Linked DNA regions of Homo sapiens: regions 1 and 2 are each linked to region 3. Evidence: promoter capture Hi-C in 16 types of primary human blood cells and fetal thymus (Javierre and others, 2016). All regions are on one chromosome and are shown on one strand. Each heading gives the region's core, a stretch centred on a gene start or on the middle of the fragment in contact. The rest is flanking DNA. Distances are from core to core; before and after follow the strand shown.

Region 1 (2,856 bases), core at 126-2,625, 760 kb after region 3:
ACCACAGAGCAAGACTCTATCTCAAAACCAACAAACAAACCAAGTATGTCTCTTCAATCGGGGAGGCAGCAGGAACTCTCTGTGCTGCATCTTCTGCAGCTGACTCCTCCTTGTCACCCTTAGCTGTCATTTCACCTCCACCTTGCTGAGCTATGGGCAGGGTAGACTGCTGTTCCTTACCGCTTAAGTGGAGTTTAGATTGTAATAGAAGAAAAAAAATGCAGTCTCTTCCTGTGAACTTTCCAGAATCTAGGTCCTGGTCTTTGAGAGGGCAACAGGCTACCAGGCCCCACCCTATGACTGTCTGACCCCTCTCAGCCCTGGAGACACTGGCTTATTTCTCTCTCTCTGGCTGCCCCCTCCCAAACTCTCTCCAGCCTGGGGAGAAGGCAGACACAAGAAGACCCTCATGTACCTGGACGACTCACTCCGGCCCTCTATGAAGTGCTTGGGGTTCAGGGCTCACCTTAGCCCCAGGCTTCCCCCCGAAGGCTCCGGGTACACCCTCACCTTCGGCCCTGACCCCACCTCTGCGGCAAGGAAGGGCGTCTGGACCCATCAGGCTGTTTTTTTTTTTTTTTTTTAGACAGGACCTGGCTTTGTCACCCAGGCTGGAGTACAGTGGTGCGATCTCCGCTCACTGCAAACTCTGCCTCCCAAGCTCAAGTGATCCTCCCACCTCAGCCTCCCAAGTAGCTAGGATTACAGACACACGCCATCACGCCGTCTAATTTTGTAAATTATTTTGCAGAGACAGGGTCTCCCTATGTTGCCCAGCTTGGTCTCGAACTCTTTGGCTCAAGCGTTCCTCCTTCCTCGGCCTTCCAAAGTGCTGGGATTACAGGCGTGAGCCACCGCGCCTGGCCCCATCTGACATTTTTTCCCACCCATTCAAAATCTCTTGGATCCCTAACAGGGTCACGGACTCCAGGTTCGGAGCAACGGGCAGGACCTCCGGTGTTGGCAGAATTCGGGCGCTCCTTGCTGAACAGTCCCCCTTCTGCCAGGCGCCTCGTCCACCTCCGCAGCCTGGGCTTTGGAGGGGACCAGCCCCGGTGGGCCGCGGGGATCCCCAGGCAGGCAGCGTCCCCTGGTGTTCGCGGCAGGGACTGCGGGGCGGGGTGGAAGCCGGGGGCAAGGACCCGCTGGAGGCCCGCCACACCCGCGACCCTCCCGGCCACGCCACTGCCCACCCCGACGTCTACCCTGGCGGAGAAGCTCCTGGGCGACGGGGCGGGCGGGCAGGTGGGACTCGGCCCCCCTCCCACAACCCCGCTCCCGGGCAAGCTCTCGAGCCGCGAGGCCGGGGCGGGGAGGGGCCGGGCCGGGGGCGGCCTGGCAGGAAGCGGCGCGCACCTTCCGCCGCCGGAGGAGCAGGTGGCTGCCGTGCGGGTCTGGGCCCCAGGCTTCCTGTGTGCGCGCTCGTCCTCTGCTGTTTCCCGCCGGAGCTCGTTGGGCCTCCCCGGCCCGCCCGGCCCATGGCCCAGACCCCCGACGGCATCTCCTGTGAGCTCCGAGGTAAGCGCTGGCCCTTCCTGCCTTCTTGGCCGGGAGGAAGTAGTGCAGCCCCAAAATCAGAGGCCCACCCAGCGCCCCAGAGGGCCTGGTCAGAGGTCCTCCCTGCTCCCCAGGAGGGCAGGCGCCCCAGATCCTCTCCCCTCCTTCCTCGCTGGCCGCAGATAAGCCCCAGGGCCCCAGCCTGGCACAGACTGTGGGCACCAGTGGCTTCTGTGCAAGGACTGAAGTCACCCAGCAGGCTGCCCTTCCACAGGCGAGATCACCAGGTTCCTGTGGCCCAAAGAGGTGGAGCTGCTGCTGAAAACCTGGCTACCCGGGGAGGGTGCTGTGCAAAACCATGTCCTGGTATGGGGCAGGGGACAGAGCCGGGGAGGCGGCTGTGGCCCCACAGAAAGAGCCTCTTGCTCTGCCCAGGATATCAGACTGTCTTTCCCCAGGCACTGCTACGATGGAGAGCCTACCTGCTGCACACCACCTGCCTCCCGCTGAGGGTGAGTCCCAGGGCCTGGCCACACCCCCGCCCGCCAGCAGCTACCTTGGCAGGGGGCTGCATCTGCAGAGTGGTCCTTCTTGGCCTTGTGGGCCCTGACTTTGCACCAGCACTGGGCTCTGGGCAGCCGACAGGAGGGGAGTCCAGGCAGATCTGGCTCTGCCCCAGGCTGCCCAAAGGACTGGACTTCCATGAGGGCGGGGCTGGGGGCTTGGTCCCAGCTGATCTAGGCCCTTTCTAGGTGGACTGCACGTTCAGCTACCTGGAGGTCCAGGCCATGGCGCTGCAGGAGACACCCCCTCAGGTGAGACACCTAGTACCCTACCTGGGCCTGCAGCCTGGTCTTCATGCTACCACCATCACCTGCGCCCATGTGTGGAGCCGAGGCCTAGTAGTGCCCCTTCCCTAGGTCACCTTTGAGCTGGAGTCCCTGCGTGAGCTGGTCCTGGAGTTTCCTGGTGTGGCCGCCCTGGAACAGCTGGCCCAGCACGTGGCTGCAGCCATCAAGAAGGTCTTCCCTCGCTCGACCCTTGGGTGAGGCCTGGCAAATTCGAGGGGCTGGCAGGGGAGGAGGGAGTGCATGAGAAGGGCTGCTTCCCATCCCAGAGGCTGGAAGTCCTTTGCCCCCTTCTCCTTAACCCCCTACCAGGAAGCTATTCCGGAGGCCCACACCAGCCTCCATGCTGGCTCGGCTGGAGAGAAGCAGCCCCTCGGAGTCCACTGACCCCTGCAGCCCCTGTGGTAAGGGTGAAGGCAGAGCCACAGGCCTTCCAGCCTGCCCCACCTCTGCCTCCCCAGACCCGCAAGCTGGGGGGGCCCCAAACTGAACAGAGCCATTCAGGTCCCAG
Region 2 (2,765 bases), core at 78-2,577, 550 kb after region 3:
CTCCCCTGAGATTTCCCTGGCTCACCAGGGGGCTGTGTCTGGTGGCAGAGAGGGCTTTGGAGGAGGCATTGCCCTGAAACCCTGGCAGAGCCTGGGCACCTAAGAGAGAATGAGCAACAGGGCTAGGAAGTGTGACAGGGAGTCCACAACCTCCCAGGATCTTGGGAGGGCAGGGATGAGGCACTGAGCACGGCCTGGAAGCCCACGGGAAGCAGGGACCCCTCTGTCGAGGGCTACACCTACTGCTCTCAGCATCAAGCCTGCAGCCAGGTACTGGCACCAACTCCCAGTGCCTGGCAGAGCCCTGGCATGGATGCTAGGCACAGGGTGCCAGACACGGGGGTGGGCAGGGTGGGGGGCCACTGGGCCACACACAAGCATGGAGACCTTCACACACGCAGGCAGAAAAATCCACCCACACTCATACCACTTATTTTACCCCCTGGGGGTTCAGGGGAGCAAGGCAGGGACCACCCTGTCCTAGAGGCTGCCTTCACCGACGTCCCTCTGGCCTGGCTCTTGGGGTTGGCGGGGGTGGGCCATAAGTAATGGGAGACCTAGGTGCTTCCTCTGACACCCCACCCTCCACTGACCCCCACACACATACATTTGTGAGGCAGGAAGTGGGGTTGTGCGTCCCCAGGTTTAAGCCCTGGAAGGAAAGGGAAAGACGGGGCAGAGACTCCAAGAACCGGGAGCGGTCGTCCTGTTCCCCCGCCAGCCCCTGTCCCAGGCAGGTTTTGTGGCCGCGAGCTGCTCAGGGGTGAGCGCGCCTTAGGGTGTGTGCGCCAGGGACCTGGCGCAGCCGACCACGTGGGAGTGCGGCGCGTGTACGGGCGCGGGCGGCAGCGGCAGCGGCAGCGGAGACCGGGTGAGCACCGGCTGGTTCCTCGCGGTGTTCCTGCAGGCTTGGCGGCCGCGGTGGTGCGATCAGCAAAGGGCACCGGGATGCCGGTTGTGCGTGTCCTCAGGTGTCCCGAACAAGCGTGAGTGGCATGTGCTCACCTGAGCGCGGCGGCTTGGCGGCCCCGGGCGTGTGGGTGGGGGCGCGGCGGAGAGCTGAGGCCGGGCACCCGGGCTGGACCGACGGGCCCTCTCCCAAGCACCGCCCGCAGCCAGGCGGCTCCTCGAGCGCAGCAACTTTGGGACTTTGTTCCGGCTTTTTCCAAATCGAATCTGGTCGAGGGGGCGGGGCGGGGGGGGAGCACCTGCCCTGCGGGGGGTGCCGGGAGAGAAGTGAAGGAAAGCCCCGCCCCCGCCCCTCCCGCTCCCCGCCCTCTCCCCCGCCCCCGGGGCTCTTCATAAGCTCGGCCCGAGGGCGAGCAGAGAAAGCGAGTGTCCCTCTCGCGCCCCAGGCCGGTGTACCCCCGCACTCCGCGCCCCGGCCTAGAAGCTCTCTCTCCCCGCTCCCCGGCCCGGCCCCCGCCCCGCCCCGCCCCAGCCCGCTGGGCCGCCATGGAGCGCTGGCCTTGGCCGTCGGGCGGCGCCTGGCTGCTCGTGGCTGCCCGCGCGCTGCTGCAGCTGCTGCGCTCAGACCTGCGTCTGGGCCGCCCGCTGCTGGCGGCGCTGGCGCTGCTGGCCGCGCTCGACTGGCTGTGCCAGCGCCTGCTGCCCCCGCCGGCCGCACTCGCCGTGCTGGCCGCCGCCGGCTGGATCGCGTTGTCCCGCCTGGCGCGCCCGCAGCGCCTGCCGGTGGCCACTCGCGCGGTGCTCATCACCGGTGAGTGCGCGGGTCGCGGAGCGCGGGGACTCCAGGCTCGAGGGCGGGACTGGACACTCAACAGGACTGACTCCCCATGGGCACAGCCAAGGCGGGCTCCTCAGCGCAAGAGTGGGAGAGTTCTCCACCCCTGGGTGCAGGGAGCGAGCCAAATAGGGAGCGCCGGGCACCTCCCCAAGCCCGGGTTCACTACCTGCCGCTGCGGGGAGTGTTGGAGGGAAAGTGAGACAGGGAGTGGGCCGGTTCGAGAAGGAAACTGACTGGTGGCTGAGAAGAGGGAACCTCCTGGAGTTTGAGAGTTTATGCCATTCCCTTCCCCAAGAGAGCAGTCTCAGGGGACTTCGGAGGCCTTGAGAAGGGAGGATCGTTACCCCTTGAACTCTGCCTGACATCCCCACCTAAGATACCCATCTCCCATTCCTCGGGCCAGAGGGAAGAGCTTAGATGGGGAACTTCCCCACCCCACCCATCCCCCACTGGCTGGGATCCTTGGAGTTCAGAAAAGCTAGAGGTCACCGTGAGGGGCAGCTGGACATTCAGCTGTCTTTCTGTCTAGCCACCCACTGCCAAACTGCTGAGGCAGTAGTTTGGAGCCTACACCCAGCACCCCACCCCCAAGCCCTCCTGGTCCTCTGTGCCCAGGAAGGAGCTCTTAGAGAGCTGGGCTCAGGTGCCTCTGGCCGCCTAGCTGAGCTCCTTTGTCTGGAGCAGGGAATAAATCTGTCACCAGAGGGAGGGAAGGGGAAGGGGGGGGGGGGCTGGAGGCCCGCCGGAAGTGGGGAGGGGGAGAAAGGCCAGGGGGCACTGACTCCATTGCATCGTGGGAGGAGCAGCCTGGTCTCTCGCCAATACCCACGGCTTTGGACAGGTGCTCCAGGCTTTGTCCTTGCGCTGGGCCTTTGCTGGGGCAGCCAGCAACCTGGCTTCTCAGAGACCTCGGTCTAGTAGGGGCCCTGTGTGATCAGATGGGGCTGGGAGAATTTTCCGGAGGAGGAAATCCTTGAGTGGGGCCTTGGAGCATGAGTGGAGATAAGTGGAGTATGAA
Region 3 (2,879 bases), core at 221-2,720:
ACGAGGTCAGGAGATCGAGACCATCCCGGCTAAAACGGTGAAACCCCGTCTCTACTAAAAATACAAAAAATTAGCCGGGCGTAGTGGCGGGCGCCTGTAGTCCCAGCTACTTGGGAGGCTGAGGCAGGGGAATGGCGTGAACCCGGGAGGCGGAGCTTGCAGTGAGCCGAGATCCCGCCACTGCACTCCAGCCTGGGCGACAGAGCGAGACTCCGTCTCAAAAAAAAAAAAAAAAAAAAAAAAAAAAGACTTTAGGGCAGGAATTTGAGGGTTTTTTTGGTTTGTTTTTGTTTCTGTTTTTGTTTTTTTTGAGACAGACTCTCACTCTGTCTCCCAGGCTGGCGTGCAGTGGCATGATCTCACCTCAGTGCAACTTCCACCTCCCTGGTTCAAATGATTCTCATGCCTCAGCCTCCCAGGTAGCTGGGACTACAGGCGCGCACCACCACTCCCAGCTAATTTTTGTATTTTTAGTAGAGACGGTTTCGTGATGTTGGCCAGGCTGGTCTCAAACTCCTGACCTCAGGAGATCCCCCCGCCTCGGCCTCCCAAAGTGCTGGGATTACAGGCAGGAGCCACCGCACTCGGCCTTGGAATTTGAGTTTTAGAAGTGTCATTCTGCCAGGCGTGATGGCTCACGTCTGTAATCCCAGCACTTTGGGGAGGCTGAGGTGGGAGGATTGCTTGAGCCCGGCAGTTTGAGACCAGCCTGGGCAACATAGAAAGACCTTGTCTCTACCCACCAACCACGAGAAAAGGTGGGAGGGGCGTCATTCTGGCTGCTCTGCTCTGTGGTTAGGACCAAGTCAAAGGTGGAGGAGGGAAAACCGTAAAATCAAGTGAGAGGCTTGGAATAGGGTGGCTGCGTCGCCGGATGGATGAGTGGAGAGAGATTTAGGAGATAGGATTTACAGCATTAGATAACTGGAAAGAGAGGGTGAGGGAGAGGAAGGAGTCAAGATGCCTCCCAGGGTTTTGGCTTGGGTCTCTGGGCAGATGGTGGGGCCATTACTGGGTTAGGAGAGAAGAGAAAAAGCAAGTTTGGCAGAAAGCTGAGTTTGGGGTAAGTTATGTTTGAGGCGCCTGGGGGCCTCCAGAGGCAGGTGTCCAGGTGGCTGGACATCAGGGTGTGGCGCTCAAGAGAGGGTTCTGGAGTGGTCGACACCGAAGTGGAGAGGAAGCAGTGAGGTGTTCTAACAACGGTGAGGAATTGGGGAGGCCGCTGGGTTCGGGGTATGCAGAGTGTAGCGGCCACGTAGCTGGCGATCTCAGGCACGTGACTGCCTGGTCCTGTGGCCCCGCGCTCGAACACTTTCAGCACCCAGGCAGGGGGTAAGGGGCGGTGTTGCCCCCTCCCGGGTCCCGCCTTTCTGCCCGCCTCTCATCCTCTTTAGCCATTGGGCAATACCTCTGTCCATCAAGGGCCCGCCTCCGCAATTGAGCCAACCAGGGCTGGCGGGAGGGCGCTTCCTTCTGGAGCTGGGTCCTGACTAGGGACCGCCTGGGTGAGGTGAGGACCTGGTGGCCGCAGTTGTGGCACTGTGCGCAGGCGCTGAACTGACCGGACGGAGCGGGCGGCTGTGGCCTCGCCAGCTGGTGAGAAGCGGGCGAGGGTCCGAGGTAGGGAAGGTAACGAGCGGGGGATGTGGACACCTCTTTCCCCGCCAGGCCTCGCCGGCGCCTGACCCTCCCGGCCTGCGGCACCGGCTCAGGTGACTGGGCGGAGGGAGAGCTGAGGTGAGGGGGCGGGTCCGCGGCGGAGAGGGACCAGCTGGGCCTACGACCACGGTCACCCCACTCACGTGCGCGCGCCACGTGGGCCCGCGGGCTCGCCGAGGACCCTTGGCTGCCTACCGGGGCACCCCACTAGCTGCTCTGGCCTATCGAGCACCCCTTGGAGCTCTGTGTCCCGACTGCACGCCCCTGTTTTACAGGCTGGCAAGCCGGGGCTCAGAGGCACCAAGCGGGTCGCCCGGGGGCACCCAGCTGGGGTACGGCCGTGCCGGGGTTCTAGGGAGATCGGTTTTGGTGGGCTCCGGAGTCCATGCACTTAGCGATGAGGCTGAAGTCAGAGATTTGAACTTGGGACCTGTCTGTTTTCTTTAAGGATGCAAGAGGGTTTGCGTCCTGGCTGCGGTGTATCACCCTGCACCGCTGCCTGCCTTGACTGCAGGGCCGGAGCGTCAGGCGCCCTCTGCTCCCGGACAGACCGCCCCCGCACCGACTTCTGCGGGGTGGGCTGGCAGGGGGTGGGGGAGTGAAGGGACGGTCCTCAGTCCTGGGAACTCTTGAGGTCCCGACAAATGATCTCGAGATCCCGAGGGCAGGATTCATACATGAAAAGCTCATTATAATGGGTCAAGGTTTTGTTCTGTTTTTTTTTTTTTAATTTAATTTAATTTAATTTAATTTAATTTAATTTATTATATTCCAAGGAAAAGTACCACCAGGGCTAGTGAAGGGACTAGGAAACTCGTCACCCCCTTGAGGAGGCAGATGTGAAGCTTTTGGAAATCAGTTTGGCAATGAGTCTACACCCTTGGACCTACTGACTCCTTGTTTGGGAAATAACTAGGATAAAACCTAAGTAGAGAAAAGGTTACTGCATAAAGCAGTACAGTTTGGTGGGGTTTTGTTGTTGTTGTTGTTTTTAAAGAGACAGATCTGGCTCTGTCGCCCAGGCTGGAGTGCAGTGGTGTGATCATAGCTCACTGCAGTCTTGAAATCTTGGGCTCAAGCGATCCTCCCACCTCAGCCTCTTGAGTAGCTGGGACTACAGGCACTTACCACCATGCCCAGCTAATCTAAAAATTTTTGTAGAGATGGGGCACTTGCTGTATCACCCAGGGTGGTCTTAAACTCCCTAGCCTCAAGTGATC

The links. The method cuts DNA at HindIII sites, captures the fragments that hold promoters and counts their contacts. A CHiCAGO score of 5 or more calls a contact.
Region 1: the fragment with the promoter of CARMIL2 here is called in contact with the fragment with the promoter of PDP2 in region 3 in 1 of 17 cell types (M0 macrophages); the score reaches 5.3 in M0 macrophages.
Region 2: the fragment with the promoter of HSD11B2 here is called in contact with the fragment with the promoter of PDP2 in region 3 in 6 of 17 cell types (total CD4 T cells, naive CD8 T cells, erythroblasts and 3 more); the score reaches 7.3 in total CD4 T cells.

Annotation. Positions count from the first base shown.
Region 1 is chr16:67,643,769-67,646,624 of GRCh38, forward strand. CARMIL2 (capping protein regulator and myosin 1 linker 2) reads left to right here and starts at 1,376. Exons shown (of 38, transcript NM_001013838.3): 1 at 1,376-1,518; 2 at 1,772-1,863; 3 at 1,956-2,009; 4 at 2,250-2,312; 5 at 2,418-2,542; 6 at 2,658-2,749. The coding sequence starts at 1,479. RefSeq lists a silencer at 1,070-1,459. The HindIII fragment of the contact is 10,344 bases long and covers 1-2,856 here.
Region 2 is chr16:67,429,794-67,432,558 of GRCh38, forward strand. HSD11B2 (hydroxysteroid 11-beta dehydrogenase 2) reads left to right here and starts at 1,328. Exons shown (of 5, transcript NM_000196.4): 1 at 1,328-1,720. The coding sequence starts at 1,456. RefSeq lists silencers at 997-1,046, 1,267-1,446. The HindIII fragment of the contact is 16,145 bases long and covers 1-2,765 here.
Region 3 is chr16:66,879,045-66,881,923 of GRCh38, forward strand. It overlaps PDP2 (pyruvate dehydrogenase phosphatase catalytic subunit 2), which reads left to right and starts at 1,471. Exons shown (of 2, transcript NM_020786.4): 1 at 1,471-1,596. RefSeq lists enhancers at 1,185-1,264, 1,513-2,285 and a silencer at 1,745-1,924. The HindIII fragment of the contact is 2,608 bases long and covers 1-2,502 here.